7 separate regions of the Homo sapiens genome follow, and all the other regions are linked to region 5. The links are contacts of gene promoters, found by promoter capture Hi-C in blood cells and fetal thymus (Javierre and others, 2016). All regions are on one chromosome and are shown on one strand. Each heading gives the region's core, a stretch centred on a gene start or on the middle of the fragment in contact. The rest is flanking DNA. Distances are from core to core; before and after follow the strand shown.

Region 1 (3,102 bases), core at 278-2,777, 450 kb before region 5:
GGGAGTCTAGGATTGAGGAGCAATAGATTTGTCTCCATTGCATAAACTTTGAAGGGAACAGATTAAAATTTTCACTGCACATCTGAAATGAAATCTATTCTGAGGATGTGTCTAACATTGCTTGTTATTATAACTTTATGCTTCGATGTACTGAGTTGGCTTTGAATTTCTTTTTCCATTATTAGTTTATATCAATGATTGCATTTTACTAGCTGACTAGTTTTGTGTGTATTTTTCATCTCTGGGGAATTAATCTTTATTTTGTCTACATTTGAAGTTTTTCAGAATTTTTAAAATTTTTTCTAAACTGACTTTACTCTCTTGCTGTTTCCAGTTTCTCATTAGGGATTGGGAGATCTGCATTCTAGTTTTGTCTGTGGCACAACTAGCTGCCTGACCTGGAGTAAAGCACTTGCTTTCTCTGGGCTTCAGTTCCCTTACAAATCAAATAGGGGAGTTGGACTATGTGACCTGTAATCTCCATTTTAGCTCTATCTGTGATTTAGAGAATCATACTACCATATCAAATACATAACTGAATATGTTAAGATTGAGAAGATGCAGGCTGTGAGTACAATAATGTAAAGAACTTCACATAGAGCAAGAAACAAATATCAAGGTAACAAAGAGCAACCGAAAAGAGCAAAAGAAAATGATGATTATGTCATTTTGGAGACAAGGTTGAAAACCAGAGCTCCTCCATGTGGTGTAAGGATTCATCAAGACAGGTGAAAGGATTTCTTCCCCTGATCAGTAACTGGGATAAGGCATCCCGAGTAAGCAACAGGCCCTGGCCTTCGATGGGGTCGCTCCATACAAAATTAGCAACAGTCACTTGGGAACTTAAGTGAGATTAAACGCCAGAATAAGATCCAGGGTCTGCTTTGGTAGAAGGGGCACGGGAACCAAGTAATACGGGCTCATCCTATGCCTGACACCTAGGTTACCTTCCAAGTGGAAAAGGACATTAGTTGGAAGGCCACAGTGGAGTTTAAGGGAAGAGGAGGCCACATTTCTTGAGCCTTAAGACACTCGGGAGGAGGTTGGCGGGTAGGGCAGGGATGCAGAGTGGTTGCTTCCTTGGAGAGTGGGACCTCATTTGTCTACACAACCCACATTCCTCTCCTGAAATTCTCGACTCTTTCGGATAAATTTCTATTAAAGTGAACGTCAAGTCAGTCTTACGCCTCTTGAAGGAAAACAGAAAAGAAATTCCTGTAAGAGGTTGAGATGGGTGTGAGTGGTCGATAAGCAACGAAGCAAACAGAATTAACCACCTCCTTTGGCTGCTCTGCCTACACCTCCTGGCACAGTACTCAATTCCCAGCGCAGAGGAGGAACCAGGCTGTGCGGCTTCTCCAACAATCAGCGAAGTAGGAAATGTTTCGGAGACACTAATTGGCTCGATTGCCTGGCGCGCTCCTGGACCGAAAGCTGTGGCTGGTTGAGGCGTTGCCTGGCGACGTGTTACTCAGTGGCGCAGTGCTTCCGTAGAGGCCAGCTGGTTGCTACGCAGCAACAGGAAACATTCCGCGCTACCGAGTACTTTCTACTCCCGACCAGGCATTGCTCTCTCTGGAGACCCTCGGCGGTGGTTGCTGTATTTTGACTTGGTGAGTCCTGGGAACCGACCCTCGGGCCTGGGCTCCGATTTCTGGGCCAGAAACAAAGTCTGACTTTCGGAGAACATAAAGGCTCAAAGAGGCAGAGAAAATCAATGGAAAGGCATTTCAGTGATTGTCTGCTATCCGCCCATCATTTTAGAGGGGTGGAAAGTGAGCAATAGCGATATCAAAAGACTTGTCCAAGATCTCACGCTGAGTGGTCAAATCTGGACCTGCGCTGTTAAATACGGTAATCTTTAGACCTCGTGTGGCTAGTCTGAATTGCAATGTGCTCATATGTAAAAAGCACACTGGATTTTGAAGGCGTGGTACCAAAAGACAACATAAGATATCACTATAATTTTTATACTGTGTGTTCAAATGATTATGTTTTGTATATGGTAAATAAAACATATTATTAAAATTAATCTCACCTATTTCTTTTTTAAAAATGCTATTGCTTGAAAATTAAAATTGCATACAAAGCTCTCATATTTCTATTGGCCAGCACTGATCTATATAAAACCTAGGTCTGCCGACACCTGATTCAAGACCTCTTGTGCTAACCCTATTTTGGAAGGTGTTTCGAAGTATCTCCACTCATCTAATGGGGTGAAAGTGTGCGTGGTGGTGCAGAGTGCAAGACCATTACAAAAGGCTCATATTTCTAGTGTTTTAGGACCTTGCTACTCAAAGTGTATGAATCAGAACCTTCATTTTAACAAGCTCTGCAAGTGATTGTCCTGCACGTTAAAGCTCCAGAAGCACTGTGTAAGAAATTAGCCCTCAATTCTTTTTTTTCCCTTTGTTTCTTCTTGAGTACCTATACTGTATTTTTCAGACTGCGTGTACTAGAATTAGCTGCATTTTGAACAAGTTCCGCAGGAGATGAGAAACATTGATCTCAATACTAATTACATTTCCTTTTGTCCTTCCAAATCTAGACCAGTGTGGTCTCCAGATGAGCAGCAGCAGCAGCATCCGCCAAGAACTTGCAAGAAATGCAAATTCCTGGGTTCCACCCTAGCTACAGGGGTTCTTGAAGCCTAGGCACAGTTTCTAATTTTTTATTCCTTTGGTTCAAGTCCTCAGTTCGGGAAGACTGGGGTAACTTTGATGGGTTTTATTTGAGGGAAGTGAGCGAATTCAACTCTTCCTAGTCCTTAAGTCCCTCTCCAGTAGCCTCCTTCCCCAATCCTTTTGATCTACTTTTCATTTTCTTTTTCCTCACCTATTCTTTTCAGGAGTAAGGATGACTTTTCGGGCCACAGATAGTGAATTTGACCTGACAAATATTGAAGAGTATGCCGAAAATTCTGCACTTTCAAGACTGAATAATATAAAAGCCAAACAAAGAGTGAGTTATGTGACATCCACAGAAAATGAATCTGATACACAAATCCTAACGTTTAGGCACATTACAAAAGCTCAGGAGAAGACAAGAAAACGACAGCAGCCTATAAAACTAGAGCCTTTGGTAAGTTCAAAAACCATTGTT
Region 2 (3,136 bases), core at 368-2,867, 490 kb before region 5:
CTTGTGTATTTTCCCTTACCTGAGTTTGAGCTTCGTCAGCCCACCAGGTTTTAAACTGCAAGTACTGAGGTGGAGTGAAAACAGATTTTGTTAAAGTATCCCAATCATATGGTATTAATCTATTATCAAGAGAAACTTTTCAATTAAGTTTGCACAAAAGGAGAATTTGGCCCATATTGACTAATGGCTTGAATTCCTTTAACAGCTTAAAAGGAAAGGTGGTCCAATTAGCTATATTCTTTCCTCCCTGCTGGACTATAGTTACGGGAAATTGCCATGCTTCAAGGTCTCCCTCGGCTCTAGCCTTTTGAATAGAATTTTGTATAGCACCACCAATTGCTCCAGGTTTTAATGTTGCAACTACAGGAGCAGTAAGTTTTGTAGCTAATTCATCTTCTGGCCCATTAAGGGGAGAGAAAGGAGGTGGCCTTTCACTTAATTCAGCAGTTGGAACCGACGGGCTAGTAAAACATACTTTTTTCAGTTTCCCTTTCTTTTCTTTAATTTTCTCCATTTTCTGTTCCTCACATTCAGAATCTGAAGTTAGATTTTTACACTCATCCTCCTCTTCTTCATCTGAATCTGCCTCATCATCTGTTTGAAATGGCTCAAGAGCTGCTTTTATTAGCGCCCACATTGACCAAACTGAGACTGGAATTTTTGCTCCATCCTTATACGCGTTTTTAAAATCTCTGCCAATTCTCTCCCATTCATCCAACTCCATAGTCCCTCGTTCCGTGAACCATGGGCAAAACTGCTTTACTGCACTACAGAGTGTTAACAAATTCTGAATACTAACTTTCACTCCCCCTCTTTGTAATAATTGCCTTAGGAAATTTAAATAAGCAGAATGTGTGCTTTCACTTTGTCCTGTTGTTACCCTGGTTCTTCCAAGCACTCAGCTTTCCCACCGAGCTTCTTTTAAATGTCCTCAGGTGTCCTTTGACGGCGCATCCTCCACTTTCACATGCTCTAGCGTTCCTTCACTGGGGTCTTTGTCGCCCCACGTTGGGCAGCCAGGAATGTTGGGGGCAGGTGGGGGCAACAAAGTCCAGCAGAGTCAAAGGATTGAGAAAAAGAGTTTGAGAGAGAAAGTGGGACCAGGGGGCCATTGCAATTGTGGAGGCTGCAAAGGCCTGAGCTCTGGGAGCCCATGCTATTTATTGGTAATCCAACAAAGAAACAGGTGGTGAGAATGTGGGGGTCAAAAGGGCAGGCTCATGATCTACAGCTGTGATGGTTTAGCATTTATATGGAACATGTTCTGCTACTTGAGATAATGGGAATACAATCAATCTAGGAGCCTAGGAGGGCTAGAAGCAAGGAGCCAGCAAGTCTAGACACATTCCAGAGGACATTATGTCAGACATGCAAGCCCTGCCTCAGCTTTTTTCCCAACACTAAGCTTTTTCCCAATACTATTTAAGATGGCGTTTCTCTGGTTCACATGCCTCTGACAGACCCCTCAAACCTGTCTGGTAATTCTTTTGACTACCCACCTCCTTTCAAGTACATGCTGGGGTAGTGGGGATGGGGGGATAGCACCTAAGCTCTCATGGTTTCCCTTCTTCCCTAACCCGAGGATCCTTTACTGATCATGGACACATTGACTCACATTTTTGTCCTAAATCTAAGTTATTTCTTTCCTGAGGTCTTTAAGTTACACATTCCCTTCCTGAAGCAATGGACCAAGAAAGCCAAACAGAAATTGACTGGGGAAAGGGGGCTGAATATTTGTGAGGAGAGAGTGAAAGAATAGAAGGTAATATGGGAAGGAAAAGCATTTGCTAGTATTACAAAGTATCTTACCTCTAGAATCGGGATGTGCTAAAGCTTTGTATGAATTCACCCAGGCAATCTGACTCTGCCACATGGAAATGGAACAAAAAGAACCTTCTCTATGCCCAGTTCTGACAACTTCTTTCTGGAAAAAGAAAATCTGCCTTCTAAAGGAAAAACAGCTGCTTTGTCCCCAGTGTACTTGTATGTACACTTGAAGAGAAATGTAGTGTAACCAAGAGAGACAGGCTTCCGGGGCTGATGAGCCAGCTTAAGCCCTCAGGCCCCACTGTAGGTACTACTAATCCCTTCATAAAACCAGCAGAGGGATTAGGGAGCTTGTATCCTTCACCTTATTTAGGGAAGATGGTACAACACAAATCAGAAACACTTAACACTTCCTCCTAGGAGAACTATGAGGAAAGATGAATCAGGAGGGCCATGGATTATTTTCATCTGAAGTGCAGCCTCCAAGAGAGACAGAATCACACAGCACAATTCTAAGAAAGAACCAGCTAATACCACTGGGCGATTTGAGCAGAGGCAGATTCTTTCCTTCTCCTCTGACAGAGAGTGGCACTGCTTGTTGGGAGGTTGCCTTTCCCAAAAAATGAGGACAAGGAACTTTCTGAAATGCACCTACAGGGCCCTCTTGGAATCCAGTGACAGTTTGTTGAATGCTTGATCCACTCAGCACCTCTGAAGGGGAGGTTCCATCTGCATTGGACCTTATAGGAATGTCAAGAACTTTGACCTCTCCTCCAGAAGAAATGGATTCCAAATATAGTTTTCTTTCCTCATATTTGAGCCCTATTGCAGATTTGGCCCCCTGAAAAGCCAAAGTTGAATACCCTGTGTGCAAGAGTACCCCGGGGACCAAGCATGTTGAAAGGAAGCGAAGAGAGCAAGACTGGGCAGTGGGAGAGGTCCAGCTGTTTGTTATAGGCCCAACAACAATCTTGGCCAAAACCCTTAGAATTTCCCTGAATTGGGCCAAGATGCTCAGACCACCTGAGTTCCTGCCCAGTATCCAGGAGGAAGGAGGTCACATGAATGAATTGAAGATGGTAAATGAGGGGAATTTTACTGCTGTTGAAAGTGGCTCCCAGCAGGAAGGGGAGCTGAAAAGCAGATGGAGCAGGAAGGTAACCTTCCCCTGGAGTCCAGCTGTCCCCAGTTGGACTCCTCTCTGATGCTACACTATCAGCTGTCCCCAGCTGGACTCCTCTCTGATGCTACACTATCAGCTGTCCCCAGCTGGACTCCTCTCTGATGCTACGCCATCAAGCTGTCCCTCTGAAGTCAAGCTGCTTCTCTCTGATGTCCAACCGTAGTCTCCAACATTCAGCTGCTTATC
Region 3 (3,232 bases), core at 604-3,103, 470 kb before region 5:
ACAAATAAAGCTGCTATGAAAATTCACATGCAAGTGTTTGTACAGATATAGACTTTGTTTCATTTCGCAAGGGTAAATACCTAAGAATAAAATACCTAGGTCATATGGTGACTATGTCCTTTACTGGCAATTTACTGACTGTGTAGCCTTGGAAGAGTAACTTTACCTCTCTGAATCTTAGCTGTGAAATAGGATTACCAACCCAGAATTTTAAGCCATTGAACTGCCGTAGGATTCTCTGTCATAGGCTATTGCTAGGGTGTATTTAAAACAGTAAAAACAAGTTGGCAAATTGGATTTTTATAAGCTCAGAACATTAGTATGATAACATATTTTTATGAGTAGGCATACTGTAATTTAGCAACAAAATCATTATTGAATAACCAAAGGCCTAACATTAGGATGAAAATAAGCAGAAAGGAACCAGGTAAGAGTATTAAGGCATCTGGGCAAACTGGCAATAGATGGCATTAGAATTGCAGCCACAGACCCAAAAGTGATCCCTGAAAAGCAACATGGCCTCCAGATCTCAGCTTGTCCCTACCCTTTGGCATATTGCCCACATCCCTAGAAGAGGTCTTGGCCCTTCCCAGCCCTTCCGTTCTCCACCATGAGCTCTGGGCCATGTACACTATGTACAGCAAGGTCCTTCCAGACAAGATAGGTTTCTGTACCTAAACTTCCATAGGGCCACCAATCAGGTACTGCAGAAAACCAAACAACTTGTCCTGAATCTCTGTGCTTCATTCTGTACTTCCCAAAGGTCTTGCAGAGACTAGATACTACAGCTGGGATATTTTCCCAATCCCTCTTCCATGAATCTGTAGGCTAAGGGACCAAGGAGTCTCATGCTAGGTCACACCAGTTATGACACTAATAGAGTTCTCAAACTCACTTTTTTGGCAGCATGTCTAGACATCACCCTGTCTTTAGACTCTCAGCCTTACTCTTCAGAGCACCTGGCCCTGATGTATTGCTTATTCAGAGCAGGCTCAAAAAGGCTTCTTGGTGTGCATAAAGCCCTAGTATTTGTTTGAATCATTTTACATTTGCTTCATCAAAAAATTCTAAATCTAAAGCTTTTTTTGTTTTTAGAATAGAAACCTGCTCAAGTAAAAAAAAAAAAATTTGAGAAGTTGGGTTTCTTTTAAAACTGAGTAATTTAGTGAGGTTGTGGAAAACACCCAGATTCAAGCCAAAGGCCTCCTGCTTCTAAAGTGACAGTGAGCAGAATTCAAAAGCAGCAAAAATAAGCAAGAGCACACTGCATTTTGTACTGCTCAGACCCAGAGTCCCATCTCAGCACCTGCCCTGCTATTCATGTGCTACTTTTTTTTTTTTAAATAGCACCACAGCCTCAGACATGGGGTTCACATTCCTCTTATTTGGTGGCTGTCACCCCTCACTGTCCCTTAGGTTTTTCCTTACTGACTGGGTTAGCTGTCAAATGGTAAAGTCTCTTATCTTTCATCTTCCCAATTGTCACCAAAGAGAGGCACACATCCATTTGCTGTTTTTAAATTTTTTTAATGTTGTGGGTGCATTGTAGGTACTTATATTTATGGGGTACATGAGATGTTTTGACACAGGGATGCAATGGGAATAAGCACTTCATGGAGAATGGAGTATCCATCCCCTCAAGCATTTGCAAACAATCCAATTTACACTCTACAAATTATTTTAAAATGTACAATTAAGTTATTACTGATTATAGTCACCCTGTTGTGCTATCAAATAGTGGGTCTTATTCATTCTTTCTATTTTTTGGTACCCATTAACCATCCCCACCTCCCCACAAACCCCCCACTACCCTTCCCAGTCTCTGGTAACCATCCTTCTACTCTGTGTATCCATGAGTTCAATTGTTTTGATTTTCAGATCCCATAAATAAGTGAGAACATGCAATGTTTGTCTTTCTGTGCCTGGCTTATTTCACTTAACATAATGATTTCAGTTCTACCCATGTTGTTGCAAATGACTGGATCTCATTCTTTTTATGGCTAAATAGTACTCCATTGTGTATGCATACCACATTTTCTTTATCCATTCATCTGTTGATGGACACTTAGGTTGCTTCCACATCTTATCTATTGTAAACAGTGCTGGAACAAACATAGGAGTACAGATATCTCTTCAATATACTGATTTCCTTTCTTTTGGATATATCCAGCAGTGGGATTGCTGGAGCATATGTTAGCTCAATTTTTAGTTTTTTGAGGAACCTCCAAACAGTTCTCCATAGTGGTTGTACTAATTTGGATTCCCGCCATCACTGTACAAGGGTTCCCTTTTCTCCACATCCCCCAGAGTTTGTTATTGCCTATCTTTGGGATATAAGCCATTTTCACTGGGGTGAAATGACATCTCATAGTAGTTTTGATTTACATTGATGATCAAGGATGTGGAACACCTTTTCATATGCCTGTTTGACATTTGTGCATCTTCTTTTGAGAAATGTCTATTCAAACCTTTTGCCCATTTTTTTGATCAGGTTATTAGTTTTTTTTTTTTTCCAATAGAGTTGTTTTAGTTCCTTATATATTCCGGTTAGTAATCTTGTCAAATGGGTAGTTTGCAACCATTCTGTGAGTTGTCTCTTCACTTTGTTATCGTACCCTTTGCTGTGCAGAAGCTTTTTAACTTGATGTGATCCCATTTGTCCATGTTTGCTTTGGTTGCCTGCGCTTGTGGGGTATTGCTCAAGAAATGTTTTTTCCGAGACCAATGTCCTGGAGATTTTCCCCAATGCTTTCTCATAGCAGTTTCATAGTCTGAAGTCTTAGATGTAGCTCTCTAATCCATTTTTATTTGATTTTTGTATATGGTGAGAGATGGGGGTCTAGTCTCATTATTCTGCATATGAATATCCAGTTTTTCCAGCATCATTTATTGAAGAGATTGTCTTTCCCCAGTGTATGTTCTTGGCATCTTTGTCCAAAATGAGTTCACTATAGGTGTGTGGATTTGTTTCTGGGTTCTCTATTCTGTTCCATCGTCTATGTGTTTGTTTTTATGCCAGTACCATGCTGTTATGGTTACTATAGCTCTGTAGTATAAACTGAAGTCAGGTAATGTGATTCCTCAAGTTTTGCTCTTTTTGCTCAGGATAGCTTTGGCTACTCTGGGTCTTTTTATGGTTCCAGATAAATTTTAGGATTGTCTTTTCTATTTCTGTGAAGAATGTCATTGATAATTTGATAGGGATTCCATTGAAACTGTAGCTTACTTTAGG
Region 4 (3,423 bases), core at 426-2,925, 430 kb before region 5:
ACTTTATATTTTCTTACCACATCCTTGAGTTTTTAAAAAATTTTAAATCATTTGCTGATATTAAGGTCTACAATTCTCTTGAATACTTCATGGTAATATGGATTTAATTTTGACATTTATTTATCTTTTTGCTCATTTATAAGGAAAATTTTCTGTTAAAGCTAGAAAACTATCAGATCTATATGGCAAACACAGAAGTCAAAAGAGATGAGAAATTAGGCAGCATAATTAGGATTATCTCAAACTTAGATTTGTAAACTACAGTAATAGACCTGTCCTTTTGCCTAAATATCTTATTTGTATAAAAATGTTATCAAATTAACCAGTGGTGTCAAACAAGTTATTTCAACACCTTTTCAGAGATATCCACCCCACCCAGAAAAGGGTTTGAGCTTTTAAAAGCATTACAAGAACAAAATATGAAACAAATTTCTGTTTTTAGATTAGTATCAGATAAAGAAGCTCAAGAAGCTAGGAGTGCAAGAACACATAATATCTAACATCAGAATGAATCACTATTGTAGAATTGTGATTTTACCAGCTTGTGTGGAAGTTTTTTATACTACTTGGAACCAGAAAAGCAAAAAAAAAAAAAAATCAGTAACATCATTAGTAGACCAACATATTAGATGATATAGATGATCATAATCCAAGACATTATTAAAGTTTTATTGCAATATTTAATTGCATATTGATGAATCTGTAGACATTAGTAACTGCTAGACAACAGCACTATTTAGAGTCTCTGAGGTGAAATGTCTGGAAGAACTTTGTTTAGGAAGAAGAAAAAAGAACTCTCTGGGGATTAAATATTCAAGGCAAATGAGGTATTATGAAAATACTTCTTAAAAATGTTTGTTACAACCAAGGTTTACTCTGATAGCACTGGTATTCAAGTAATATGTTATTTGCAGAGGGACTTCCATATGTAAATGGTTTCCTAAAATTATGAATTACAAATTTAAAAATATTGTCAAAATGATGTCCATGATAAAATCCAAGCTATCAACCACATAACCATTTGTTTTTAGCTTTCTACAAAAAACTGAGAACAAATACTATTTTTCGTTGTTTCATAGTTAAGTGCATTGGCAATCCAAAGGATGAGTTTTATCAAGAATTGGGAAGTATTTTGCAAATGATCCAACTTTGCAGATTTAGTAAAGGTTAGTTCTTAGTTACACACCTGGGTTACTTAATTGACATTTGACCACCTGAATAGCTTAACTGAAAAATTACGGCAGCTGCCAGGAAATATATTAACACTTACTGACAAAGATTAGGAATCGACAGCAAAAATTCAACTTGGGAAACGTAATGTTTAAAATGGTTCTCATGATTTTTTAGACGCTGCTGTGGATTTGAACCTAAAGAAAGATTATTAAGTCAAATAGAATAACTTCTGTGTTTGAGAGAAATCTTCACCATTGTTTCTAAAATCATTACAAGAAATGTCAACACTGCATCAAAGAAAGACAAGTAACAACTGTTAGAGTTAAAGAGTGGTGGTACCTTTGGTGAATAATTTCAAGAGAACAAGGTATCCAAATTTTGACTAGTCGAAAAGGGAGTTTTCATCTGTCAGAGACAAAACAATAAATAAATCATCTTCTGCCATTTGCTGCCTGCTACTTTTACAAAGTTTCTTAGGAGTGGTGACTTCAAGAACTTGGACAGATCATTCATCATGTCTTGATTAGACATGATGTAGCTACTTCAAAAAAGTTATGGTCACAGCTGTGGTTGCTTATGAGCTAGACATAATTGGAAGTTTTATCAAATATTATATCCCTAATTTGGGATAATTATGTCCCAAATTAAAAATTATATAATCTCACATATTATGTGCATTGTGTTTTGTCATATTATATAAAGAAATTGTAATTAATGTCTTCACCAAGCCCCTGCAGTTTATATCAGTGTGCCTTATAAAATGTTATTATTGCATGGGTTTTATAACATTCAAAGTTTGAGAAGCATTGTGCTAGAGGATTGTAGAATGATTTTCTCCTGCATAAGAATCTGACCTTTGGCTAATCCTGCAGCTGTGTACCCTCAATAACCTAAAAAACGTAAAATATTGTTTATAGGCAACATTGCTTATGATAAAAATGACATCAATTAGTAAATTATAGCTGCATTAGGAGGAACTAAGAAATAATTATAAATACCTTATGGGGAGTCATAGCTTTTGACTTCCCATAGTTCAGATTCTTTTTTTCTGAGCATGTGCCCTGTAGGAATGCTGAAATCTATGCTTATGGGGTTATTGCAAGAGATGCTGGCTCCTGTGAGTAATAAGGCTTTTAGGCCAGAGTGGCTTTCATATGCACTCAATGTGGATCTCATCTTTTTGCATCTGAGTTGACACCTAGGGAGAAGATAGCTCCCAGGTGGCTATTAGACTGCTGCAAGGACTCCAATGGGAAAGTAATGTCTGATGCTGCCCTGAAGGCAATAAGTGGTTCCGGGTTTTTCTGAGTAGATGGATGCCAAATAGAAGTATATGAAAGTCTTGTGAGTTTTAACATTTAGTTGTATCTAAGAAGACCCCTGGTGAGGCAATTTTTAAGTATTCCTTTTTCAGGTTGGTATAAAAGGACCCACTGTTGATATTAAAAAGTTCTCTCCCTAGTAGATGGTAGGTGTTTTTCATATCTACGTAACCCTTCACCTCACCATTATTTCAATTATATAAATTCACATTTTGCTGTTTTTTGTTTTGGCCATTGAAATATAAACTTGCTCACACTGATAAGGAACTGTGGGTGCTTTTATAAGGCATAGTGGGGTACTAAGTCTTTGTGATGTTAATGGGTGAGTACTGCAACATGATAGTATTAACACCAACTATAGTATATGCCAAATCTTGTTCTAAATGTTTTATATGTATTAGCTCATTTAATCTCCACAGCAACTCTTTAAGGTAGGTAGGATTGATATACCCATTTTACAAATGATGAAAGTCACAGAATTAAGTTCACATAGCTAGTGAGTCATGGAGCTGAGATTCAGATTATTTGGATTTTAGAACCCAAGTCCTCATGCACGCCACTTAATATACTCATCCTCATAATGACAACTACTCCTGCATTTGTGTCACACACACTGTGTTAGGCATTGTGCCAAGTGCTTTCTGTACATTAATCTTCTTTCTTCCTCATAAACATCCCATTAGAATGGCATTATATGTAGTGGAAAGATAAGAAAATTGAGGTATAGATTAAAGACTTTTCTATTTGATATTGTTTTGTGATTTGCAGTAGGAAATTCAGAATAATGTCTGATGCTCCCATCTTTCAATTCTATGATTTCATTCTCTGTGCAATGTCAAGTTTAAAGCTATTAAAATCTAACAGATAGTTCAGATTGTATGGCGGAGCCTTCCCCCAAATCTGAGCATCTTTTGGGTCCACAGAATGC
Region 5 (3,372 bases), core at 651-3,150:
ATCAGACTACAGCACTGATAATGCCTTAATCTCTATACAATTTATTTATAGACATCACTTACCCATCAGGAGACAATGGGATCAGCGTTGTTCTCCCCATTTTTACAGCCCAAGAAATTGAGGCTCCTGATACCCAGGATCACATATGCCAACACCGTAAAATGCTCAGAAAGGCATCGACACAGAGCTTTACTTAATACCCTTCTTTCTACTCCACCACACCCCATTTACGGCCAGGTTGGATCTCTTTCTACAAGAGAAATGGAATAAATTTGTGCAGGAGCTCCATACAGGCAATAAAAATATCTCTGGTGACAAAGTCCTCATTTAAACTCCAGTTTGTTTATCACTAGTTACTACCAAATACAGTCCCTTGGGAGTTCTGAGTGACCCAAAACCTACTTCCTGGACTTCAAGATGAGCTTTTAGTTTCTTTGAAATCAGGAAGTGTCTTAAAACCAGATTCAATGAAATACGGTAACAATCTTTTTACTGTGTCCTGTGCTAGGTATTTTATATGCATTTTAGCACTTAACCTCCAAACCTCTTATTATTAAACCTCTGTTGTTACGTCCATTTTAAAGATAGAAAAGTCAGGGCACAGAGAGGTTTAGAGATCACACAGCCAGCAAATGGTGGACAGTATAAGAGTAACCTCAAAGCAAGCAGTACCCCAGATTCCAATTTCAGTTGACTTAGCCTGGTAACAGTTCAATTTTATGCAAAACCCACAACTTCAAATGGAAAAAGATAAATTAAAACAACCACAAAAACCAGACAAATGGAGGCTCAGCAGGCCTTGTAGCTCATCCACGGTTACACAGAGGATCTCAGAGCCAAAATTCCATGGCCGATCCGTCTTGACTTCAAAGCGCGATCTATTTCCACCAAACCACGGAACCATCGACACGTGGTAAGGGGCAGTACAAAGATTTGTTGAATTAATAATGCCTGAAAACAAATTGACAATAAGAAGGTAAAAATGGAAAACACAGATAAAATCGGAAAAGCAGACCACTTTCAGGAAACAAAAAACTCCAAATTTTCAAGGCAGGGCATTCACGGTGAGCCAAGGCGCTGGGACAAAGTTTGCGCGGGTACCGCCGGACTCCCGGGCTGCCCGGCGCGGAGTCTTTAACGGAGATGGTTCGCAAGGAATCGGCCTCGGAGCCCGGCAGCCTCCTGGCTTCCCTCCTGACCACCAGTAACCCGGCCGGGAAACACTGGCGAAGACCGGGGGCCAGTCGCCTTCCCTTTCTGGGCTGTTGGCTTAAAATACACACAAACACAAGTCCCCAGGCGGTCCGCGGCCTCTCAGTGGGGCTGGAGCTCGCTGCCCGAGGCCCGCCCGGAAGCCATGCACCTGCGGACAGGAGTCTCTCCGAGTCGCAGCTCGCCGCCGAGAAGCACCCACCTCCCGCGGCCGGCGCAGCCCAAGGCCCTGGCCCCTATAGCCCGGCCTAGGCCCGCCCCAGGCGGGGCTAGGGGCGGCGTGGCGGGCGGGCGCCCCTCGGGCCGCGCCGGTGAGCAGCGGGAGCCGGCGCCGGGCATTTCCTCTTCCTCCCTACGCGCGGCGCGGCGGCGGCGGCGGCGGCCAGGCCGAGGCTGGGCACGGGCGCCCGATCGCGGCCTGCTGGCTAGCGCGGGCAAGCGCCGCGCCCCGAGCCGCCGTCGCCGCGTCGCCCCCGTCGCGACCGCCGGCCGCGGGGCCTCCGGGCGGCTGGGCCCGGCGAGGGCAGCGAGAGGCGGGGCTGGCGTGCGGGCGGCGGAAGGAGGCGGAGGAGGAGGAAGAGGAGGAGGAGGAGGCGGCGGCCGGGAGCCGGGGGAGAGGGGCGGGGGGTGGGCCGGGGGAGGGGAGGAGCGGGATTTGCGGAGCGCCGCGCCGCTGCCGGGAGCCGGCAGGCCCGAGAGTGACCGGAGTCACGGCGGGCGCCGGCGGAGCTGCGGCGTCGGACCCGCCTCCTGGAGGAGCTCAGCCCCGACCAGGCCCGGCCCCATTCCCGCCCCGCGCCGCCTCCCCGCCGCCGCCGCCGCCGCCGCCGCGGGAGCGCTCCCCTGCCCACCCCGCCCCCGCGGCCGAGCCCGGGAGTCGAGTGGGAGTCGGCCGGCCGGCGCGGGCAGCGCCGGGACCCCGCGGGGGACACTGCAGCCGGAGCCCGGGAGGGGCCGCGCCGCCACCGTCTGAACTAGGATGTCCCGACATGAAGGTGAGAGGAGCCCCCGCCCCCACCCGCACCTCCCGGGCCTCGGCCTACCCCGCCCGGGCCGGGCGCGGCGGAGGGCGGCCGGGAAGCGGCGGAGACTTTGGCCGAGCCCGAGCCGGGCCCGAGGCGCTGGACCCGGGAGCGAGCGAGCGAGGGCGGAGAGCCGCGGCGCCGCTGCCGCCACGGCCGCGGCCCTTAGCTGGGCCTGGTGCTGGAGGCGGGGCGGCCCGGGCGGCCGGAGGGTTTGCACTGTCATGGGGCGGAGGGGGAGGGGAGGCGGCGGGGCCCGTTACCGGCGGGAGCTCGGCCTTCGGGACTGATACCGGACGCCAAGGCCCGCCCGGCCGGTTCAGGAGCCGCGGGCCCCAGCGCGGCCTAGCGCTCCCGCCGCCCCGGAAGAGCCCGGTGTGGTCGCAGAGCCGGGCCGCGGGCGGCAGCAGGAGGCAAAAGAGCCGGCCCGGGACCCGGCAGGCGCGTCCGGTCGCCGGGAGACGACGGCGAGTGTCCCCGCCTGCGGGCGACCGCGGGGCTGGCGGGAAGGCTCTGCGGCCAAGGGACGGGAAGCCCTCGCCGCCTGGAGCCCGCCCCGGCCTCGCGGCTAGGCCTCGGCGCGTCCCTGGGCTCGGGTAACCAAGTTCCCGGGGTGGATCCGACCCCGCCGCAGCAAGCAAACTCCCTGCTCAGTCACCCAGGCGGAGCAGGGCTCGCTCCCCGCGGCCCTGGTGCCCTCGCCGGCATGTGCTGCCTACCAGACCAGGTTTTGGAAAATGACGATGGTGAGGTCTGTTCATGGTCGGGGGTCGTTTTGGACCTTGTTTTGCCATTTTAAAACACGATTGGAGTACAGTTGCAAATAAGCAGACAGCTCTAAGCCCAGTCCCAGGGCACAAAGAGACAAATGTTTAGGGTCGATGTATAGGCTTTGAGCTGGTAAGAAATAAGTTAACTTTAATTTATTGCCATATGGTTTAGAAAAGGAGGAGGGGGTTGTGTTTTCTTTGTTTCACTACTACAGGTTTTTGGATAAAAAGTGTTAAGAGTCTTGGCGAAAAGTTTGTCCTGCTAAGGTTAATACAAGATTGTAGAAGTGGCTTGAAAGTTTGTGTACTCCGGATTTTAAAATCCTGTATAGGTGATGTAGGAGTGGAGAAAGTTTAGTGAGTCAGTT
Region 6 (3,117 bases), core at 529-3,028, 350 kb before region 5:
CCAAATTGAATGGTGAAAGAGATAATGTATATATGTAAGCTGATATTGGAAAATTCACCATGACAATTTTTTTTATTTGTAGAGATTAAATGCCCTAGCTGCAATAGTTCAAGGCAGTCTTCCTAAATTACACAGAAACATCCTAACTGCATTGATTACTATTGATGTGCATGCAAGAGATATAGTCACTGAACTTGTTCAATCCAAGGTAACTGTTTCATTTAAGTAAAATTATATACTTCTTTCTGAAATTAGTGTATCTAATATGTATATCACATATAGGTGGAGACAGTTGAATCTTTTGACTGGCAGAGACAACTGCGCTATTACTGGGATATAGACCTGGATAATTGTGTGGCTAGAATGGCGCTCTCTCAGTACACTTATGGCTATGAATATTTGGGTGCATGCCCAAGATTGGTTATTACTCCACTCACAGTAAGTTATTGATCACTTGGGTTAATATTGACACAAGAGTGCTTTTCAATCAAAAGTCTTGAAAAGTTTCATATGACATTAACTCTTGAAAGAATTTATTATGAATACATCTTTGTAAAGCAAATATTTGCATTATTTAATTATGTGCATGGATCTTTTGGTGTATTTCAATTGCTATATTTTTCATAGAAAATAATAATCCTTCCCCCATAGAGAGGAAATGCCTTAATTTGTGGCCAGAGTTGGTTCCCTTCATATTGATAATGCATTGCTTTCTTCAGGATCGCTGCTATCTTTGCCTCATGGGAGCTTTGCAGCTTGACCTTGGGGGTGCACCAGCTGGTCCTGCTGGCACTGGGAAAACAGAGACTACCAAAGATCTGGCAAAAGCTCTTGCCATCCAGTGTGTGGTCTTTAACTGTTCAGATGGTTTGGACTACAAGGTACAGTTCTTGCATCTGAATATTAACATTAAGTGTTTTATGTGTCTTTCTCTATTTGCAACATGACATAACAAAATAAGGCAAGAATGGAGTGATGACAAGCAAGAGAAAAGAAATGGGGTAAATAATGGTTAAAGTGGAATAAATAGAGCAAGGGAGAAGAGTCAACACGTGGTGGTCTGGGTAGTCTGGATAAGAATCAAGGCCAGGGGATGATTTGTCAAATGGTGAAAAAAATAAAAATCTGTACATGTCAGTAAGAAGAAAGAAACGAGATGAGGTACAAGATAGAATAGCAGGGAAACCGAAGAACAAGGACTAAGCTTAGAGTAGGAAATTGGCAATTTAGAGAATGGTGTATTGAACATGAAATATGTGGGAGGTGAGAATTCATGGTAAGGTTTTTCAATACAGTGGTTCTCAAACTTTTTGGTCATGGGACCCCTTTACACTCTTAAAAATTATTGAGACTTCCAAAGAGCTTTTGTTCATATGGGTTACGTATGTTGATATTTACCATGTTAGAAAAAATTAAGTAAAATATGTTTTATATATTTATTTGTTAAAAAAATAACAGTAAGCCCATTATATGTTAACTTAAACATGTTTTTGTAAAACAAAACTTCCAAACAAAAAACATTGTCCCACTATTTTATATTTTTGAAAATCTCTAATATTTTCAAGATATTGCTATTATGCTAATATTTGGCATAATAGAAGACAGCCAGATTCTCTGATTTGCTTCTACATTCAGTCTGTTGGGATATGTTTTTTTGGTTGAACATTTGAAGAAAATCTAACCTCACACAGATATGGACTCTGAAAAGAGGAATTTTTTTAAATAACTTTTTCAGTTAATTGTTTATACTCTTCTTTGAACTACACCAAAACTTGACAAATGTTAGTTTCTTAAAGGTTATTTGCTATGTTAAAACTTAAACCATATACACATCTTTTCGTACTCTATACTCTCATGAGAGAGTGAGAATGAAAAAGGCATATAACACCTTAGTATTATTATGAAAACACTTTGGCCTCACAGATCCCCTAAAAAAAAAACTCATGGATTTGCAGGGATCCTTGTTTGGCTTTATTTTTTCTGGTGGTTGCTATTTAAACTGTAAAAACATACATTTGTTTCTATATTTTTATGTACCCACTTTGGACACTATCTGCCAACATATTAAATAGATGAGGATTTTATTAGACACAACTTTGTGTGTCTAATGAAGTTGGACTTTCTATTTCAACCTCACTTTTACCATGTCAAGTTTTATAAAATTTGTATTTTATTCTATAACTAAATTATGTCTTCACTGCTTTGTCTGGGGGCTGAACATAAAAATGTAAATCCCTTATACAGTGCTTATAATATCAAAGATTGTTCATAGTGGAATTTAATAGAATAATTGGCCCCACAGAGAAAGATCAATACATATATCACAAACCCCTGCCATTCAAAGTAAACATCCTAAGCTTCAGGGTTAGTGGACTGTGTTTTCTTTCCACTTTCTTTACTTCTTCTAGAACCATTATTTTTCTCTTTTTTTATTTTTTATTTTGAGACGGAGTCTCGCTCTATTGCCCAGGATGCAGTGGCTCAATCTCGGCTCACTGCAACCTCTGCCTCCCGGGTTCAAGCAGTTCTCTGCCTCAGCCTCCTGAATAGCTGGGATTACAGGTGCCCACCACCACACCCGGCTAATTTTTGTATTTTTAGCGGAGATGGGGGTTTCACCATCTTGGCCAGGCTGGTCTGGTCTTGAACTCCTGACCTCGTGATCCACCCGCTTTGGCCTCCCAAAGTGCTGGGATTACAGGCGTGAGCCACCGCGCCCGGCCAGAACCATTATTTTTCTAACTACTGTGTGCTGTGAATCACCCGGAGATATTTATTAAACTACATATTATGATCTGCAGGTCTGGGGTGGGGCCTGAAATTATGCATTTCTGACATCCGCCAAGGTGGTGCAAATCGATACTGGTCCACTTTGAGACCGTGGTTCTGAGAGCGTGAACCCTGAACCAACAGCATTAGCATCACCTGACAACTTGTTGGAAATGCAAATTATAAAGCCCCACCTCAGACCTACTTAATCAGAACTTTGGAGCTAGAGCACAGCAACAAGAGGCTTTTTTGAAACAAACTTCCAGGTGATTCTGATGCACACTCAGATTTCAGGACCACTGTTCTAGAGTAGATTCAGCTGCCACTGTTTTTTGTATTTCAGTTTTG
Region 7 (2,976 bases), core at 466-2,965, 360 kb after region 5:
CCTTTGGCCGCCGGGTGACTTTAGATCTTTTTCCTTCCAGGACAAAAGCAATGATCTGAGGAAAGGAAAAAGAAAATGATTAACAGGTGGCTCTGTAATGACATAGTTCAGTCTCTGAACTCAGAGGCAGTCACCTGGTAGCATATTTGTTAATGACCCTGACTGTAGAAAGAGCAGTACACTCACAGAGGTCTATTTAAACTATAACCATTTTAAGAAAGACAGAGCCTAATTACATCAGAATCCTTTGTATTGCTTAATAGGAAATAACAAATAGAAGGCTGTCTGAGCTCTAGCGTGTGGGAGGAAGTCTGTTTGATTTATTCAAAGGTACACAGTCAAAGATCTATCAACTCCTTCCTAGAGATATCTAGGATATAGGACATTCCTTTAAAAAAAGTCATAATCAGAATTTCCTATCTACAAATGTACTTTTTCACCCCACGATGCTACATCAACTACATTCTTTATCAATCTCATTTCATGACTAAGGTTACCCTGCATAATGGACACTTGGACATAGAATAAGAAATACACTTTTTTTTTTTCTTAGAGGCAAGGTCTCACTCTGTCACCCGGGCTGGAGTGCAATGGCGTGATCATGGCTCACTGAAGCCTCGACCTCCCACAGTCAAGCCATCCTCCCACTTCAGCCTCCTGAGTAGCTGGGACCACACACGTCCACCACCACATCTGGCTAATTTTTTTATTATATGTAGAGACGAGGTCTTGCTATGTTGGCCAGGCTGGTCTCGGACTCCTGGGCTCAAGCGATCCTCCTGCCTCGGCCTCCCAAAGTGCTGGGATTAGAGGCAGGAGCCACTGCACCGGGCCAGGAATGCACATTTTTACTAAAGGTCTTCCCCTTTATTCTTTATAGCCATAGGCCTTATGGCCAGAATTGGACTCTCCAATTTTAAGCAGGTTACAGAAACTAGCTTCTAAATGTTGGGGGCTCAATATGAAATGCAATCATTTTGTCATTAGAGTGGTTGCTAATAAACAGACCAAACCCTGATGAAAAAGTAACAGGTGTACGTGTCTGTGCAATTTCTGGGCTTTCTTCTAATTATTATTAATTGCAGAAGTCCCTGGGCTCTTTGGTCCTGGTATCGAAGACGCAGTAATTGAAACCATTCTTTGTGCCACTGCTGATGGAAGAGAGAATGTTGGGAAAGGAAGCTAGAAATGACATATCGTCTCAAGAAGGGAAATAGGATGGAAGGTACGTGCTTTAACTGTCAAGTACTCAGGTCCTCTGAGGCTGTGAAGGACCTAAGTGCAAAGTTATGGGAGGAGATTCCAAGTCAGGTCAGATCCTAATAATGTCCTAACTTGGCTCCTAATGCAGTAGCAGAGGACACTCAGAGTAAACAGGTGACAGGATGAAAACACGATTAACAAAACAAGAGTAAAGAGGCCTAATAGGGCCTGAGGAAAAAACTGAAGTTTGTTTTAAAGTCCCCAGTGCTCACGGGCATCTAGTGACGGGATACCCACCCACACCCAAGCTTCCAGGGTGCTGGAAACCCCACTCCCCTCCGGAAGGCCGCTGTCGACTTACCTTCCGCTTGTTGTGATGAGCGATATAGAGGACAGCCACAAGAATGGCTGCAGTCACCAGATATGCAAAGAAGTGGCTGCTCTCCGCGCTGCCATTTCCAGAACCGTTCGGATAAAGGTCATCCTTCTCGCTACCCGTGGAATCCGAAAGTGTCCCTTCACGGTTCTCACTGGAGGCAGAACCGGACATCTTTTCTTTCTCTTCTTTGGGCGGTGAGCCCTCCTCGGGTCCTGTATCATCATCTTCAGCCTCTTTGGGCTCCACATCCTCAGTAGGCTCTGAAGACTTAACTTCCTCCTGCGGGGGAGAAATGAGGTCAGTTTCCTCCCCAGATTCGGTTTTGAAAGCATGAGGAGAAAGCTTCCCTTTGTCAGCAAGCTGGTTTGTGTCAGCCTTGGGGAGCTCCTTGTTATCAGAAGGGTTGGAGATGGGCTTGGAATGGTCTTTCCGGGAAGGCTGCTCTGGAACCACCTTGTTAGGGCTGTCTTTTGAGGTCTGCTCCTCCGCACCCGACTTGCTGGGCCCGTCTATTGGGCCCTGCTCCTCTGCACCGGACTTGTTAGAGCCGTCTTTTGGAGTCTGCTTCTCCGCACCCGACTTGTTAGGGACGTCTTTTGGGGTCTGATCCTCCGCACCCGACTTGCTGGAGCCGTCTTTTGGGGTCTGGCCGTCCGCACCCGACTTATTAGGGACATCTTTTGTGGTCTGCGCCTCCGAACCTGACTTGCTAGGGCTGTCTTTTTGGGTCTTTGCCTCCGCACCCGACCTGTTGGGGCTGTCTTCTGGGGTCTGCGCCTCCGCACCCGATTTGCCAGTGCTGTCTTTTGGAGTCTGCAGCTCCGGATGCGACTTACTAGTGCTGTCTTTTGTGGTCTGCGCCTCCGAACCCGACTTGCTAGTGCTGCCTTTTTGGGTCTTTGCCTCCGCACCCGACTTGTTGGAGCTGTCTTTTTGGGTCTTTGCCTCCGCACCCGACTTGTTGGGGGTGTCTTCTGGGGTCTGCGCCTCCGCACTCGACTTGCTAGGGCTGTCTTTTGGAGTCTGCGGCTCCGGATGCGACTTGGTAGAGCCTCCAGGCCGTTGGCTCAAGCTGGGGTGGGTGGAGACGTTTCCTGCAGAAGGCCGTACTCCAGCTTCTTCTTGCTTGACGCTTTCGGTGGCCAAGAGCGGCACGGCTCCTGAAATAGAAAAACGAGTTAGCACCGGAGAAGGGCAGGCGGGAAGAAGGAACTCCTCAGAACTGGAAGAGATCGGGAGCAGCGGGGGAATGGGGATTGGGGGGTGGGGCGGGAGACGATGGCGAGCGGAGAGGTGGGTCGGGTAGGGAAGAAGCGAGCCTAGAGGTGACCTGCCCAGGTGAGAATGGGGGATCTGGGGGCAAGAGTGGGATGCGGGATGGAGGGTCTTACCCG

Evidence for each region. The method cuts DNA at HindIII sites, captures the fragments that hold promoters and counts their contacts. A CHiCAGO score of 5 or more calls a contact.
Region 1: the fragment with the promoter of DNAH6 here is called in contact with the fragment with the promoter of KCMF1 in region 5 in 9 of 17 cell types (naive CD8 T cells, non-activated CD4 T cells, total CD4 T cells and 6 more); the score reaches 19.6 in naive CD8 T cells.
Region 2: a fragment that was not itself captured here is called in contact with the fragment with the promoter of KCMF1 in region 5 in 5 of 17 cell types (naive CD8 T cells, total CD8 T cells, non-activated CD4 T cells and 2 more); the score reaches 8.0 in naive CD8 T cells.
Region 3: a contact is called between a fragment that was not itself captured here and the fragment with the promoter of KCMF1 in region 5, in 9 of 17 cell types (naive CD8 T cells, total B cells, naive B cells and 6 more). The highest score is 12.2, in naive CD8 T cells.
Region 4: a contact is called between a fragment that was not itself captured here and the fragment with the promoter of KCMF1 in region 5, in 2 of 17 cell types (total CD4 T cells and naive CD8 T cells). The highest score is 7.3, in total CD4 T cells.
Region 6: a contact is called between a fragment that was not itself captured here and the fragment with the promoter of KCMF1 in region 5, in 1 of 17 cell types (total CD4 T cells). The highest score is 5.3, in total CD4 T cells.
Region 7: a fragment that was not itself captured here is called in contact with the fragment with the promoter of KCMF1 in region 5 in 6 of 17 cell types (M2 macrophages, fetal thymus, M0 macrophages and 3 more); the score reaches 6.8 in M2 macrophages.

The regions. Positions count from the first base shown.
Region 1 is chr2:84,514,971-84,518,072 of GRCh38, forward strand. It overlaps DNAH6 (dynein axonemal heavy chain 6), which reads left to right and starts at 1,528. Exons shown (of 77, transcript NM_001370.2): 1 at 1,528-1,613; 2 at 2,849-3,081. The coding sequence starts at 2,857. The HindIII fragment of the contact is 7,595 bases long and covers 1-3,102 here.
Region 2 is chr2:84,476,012-84,479,147 of GRCh38, forward strand. It overlaps a transcript of DNAH6 not described here. Among named protein-coding and RNA genes, the nearest start is that of SUCLG1, 18 kb to the left of the region's middle. The HindIII fragment of the contact is 428 bases long and covers 1,404-1,831 here.
Region 3 is chr2:84,497,389-84,500,620 of GRCh38, forward strand. It overlaps a transcript of DNAH6 not described here. Among named protein-coding and RNA genes, the nearest start is that of DNAH6, 17 kb to the right of the region's middle. The HindIII fragment of the contact is 1,553 bases long and covers 1,078-2,630 here.
Region 4 is chr2:84,535,102-84,538,524 of GRCh38, forward strand. The region is part of intron 4 of DNAH6 (dynein axonemal heavy chain 6); the gene reads left to right. Among named protein-coding and RNA genes, the nearest start is that of DNAH6, 20 kb to the left of the region's middle. The HindIII fragment of the contact is 3,953 bases long and covers 1-3,423 here.
Region 5 is chr2:84,969,261-84,972,632 of GRCh38, forward strand. KCMF1 (potassium channel modulatory factor 1) reads left to right here and starts at 1,901. Exons shown (of 7, transcript NM_020122.5): 1 at 1,901-2,207. The coding sequence starts at 2,192. RefSeq lists an enhancer at 828-907 and silencers at 1,406-1,655, 1,686-2,775. The HindIII fragment of the contact is 10,310 bases long and covers 1-3,372 here.
Region 6 is chr2:84,624,183-84,627,299 of GRCh38, forward strand. DNAH6 (dynein axonemal heavy chain 6) reads left to right here. Exons shown (of 77, transcript NM_001370.2): 27 at 83-208; 28 at 283-438; 29 at 720-881. Among named protein-coding and RNA genes, the nearest start is that of DNAH6, 110 kb to the left of the region's middle. The HindIII fragment of the contact is 1,153 bases long and covers 1,203-2,355 here.
Region 7 is chr2:85,324,944-85,327,919 of GRCh38, forward strand. TGOLN2 (trans-golgi network protein 2) reads right to left here. Exons shown (of 4, transcript NM_006464.4): 1 at 2,974-2,976; 2 at 1,565-2,742; 3 at 1-55. Among named protein-coding and RNA genes, the nearest start is that of TGOLN2, 1.6 kb to the right of the region's middle. RefSeq lists enhancers at 1,649-1,818, 2,059-2,238. The HindIII fragment of the contact is 413 bases long and covers 1,510-1,922 here.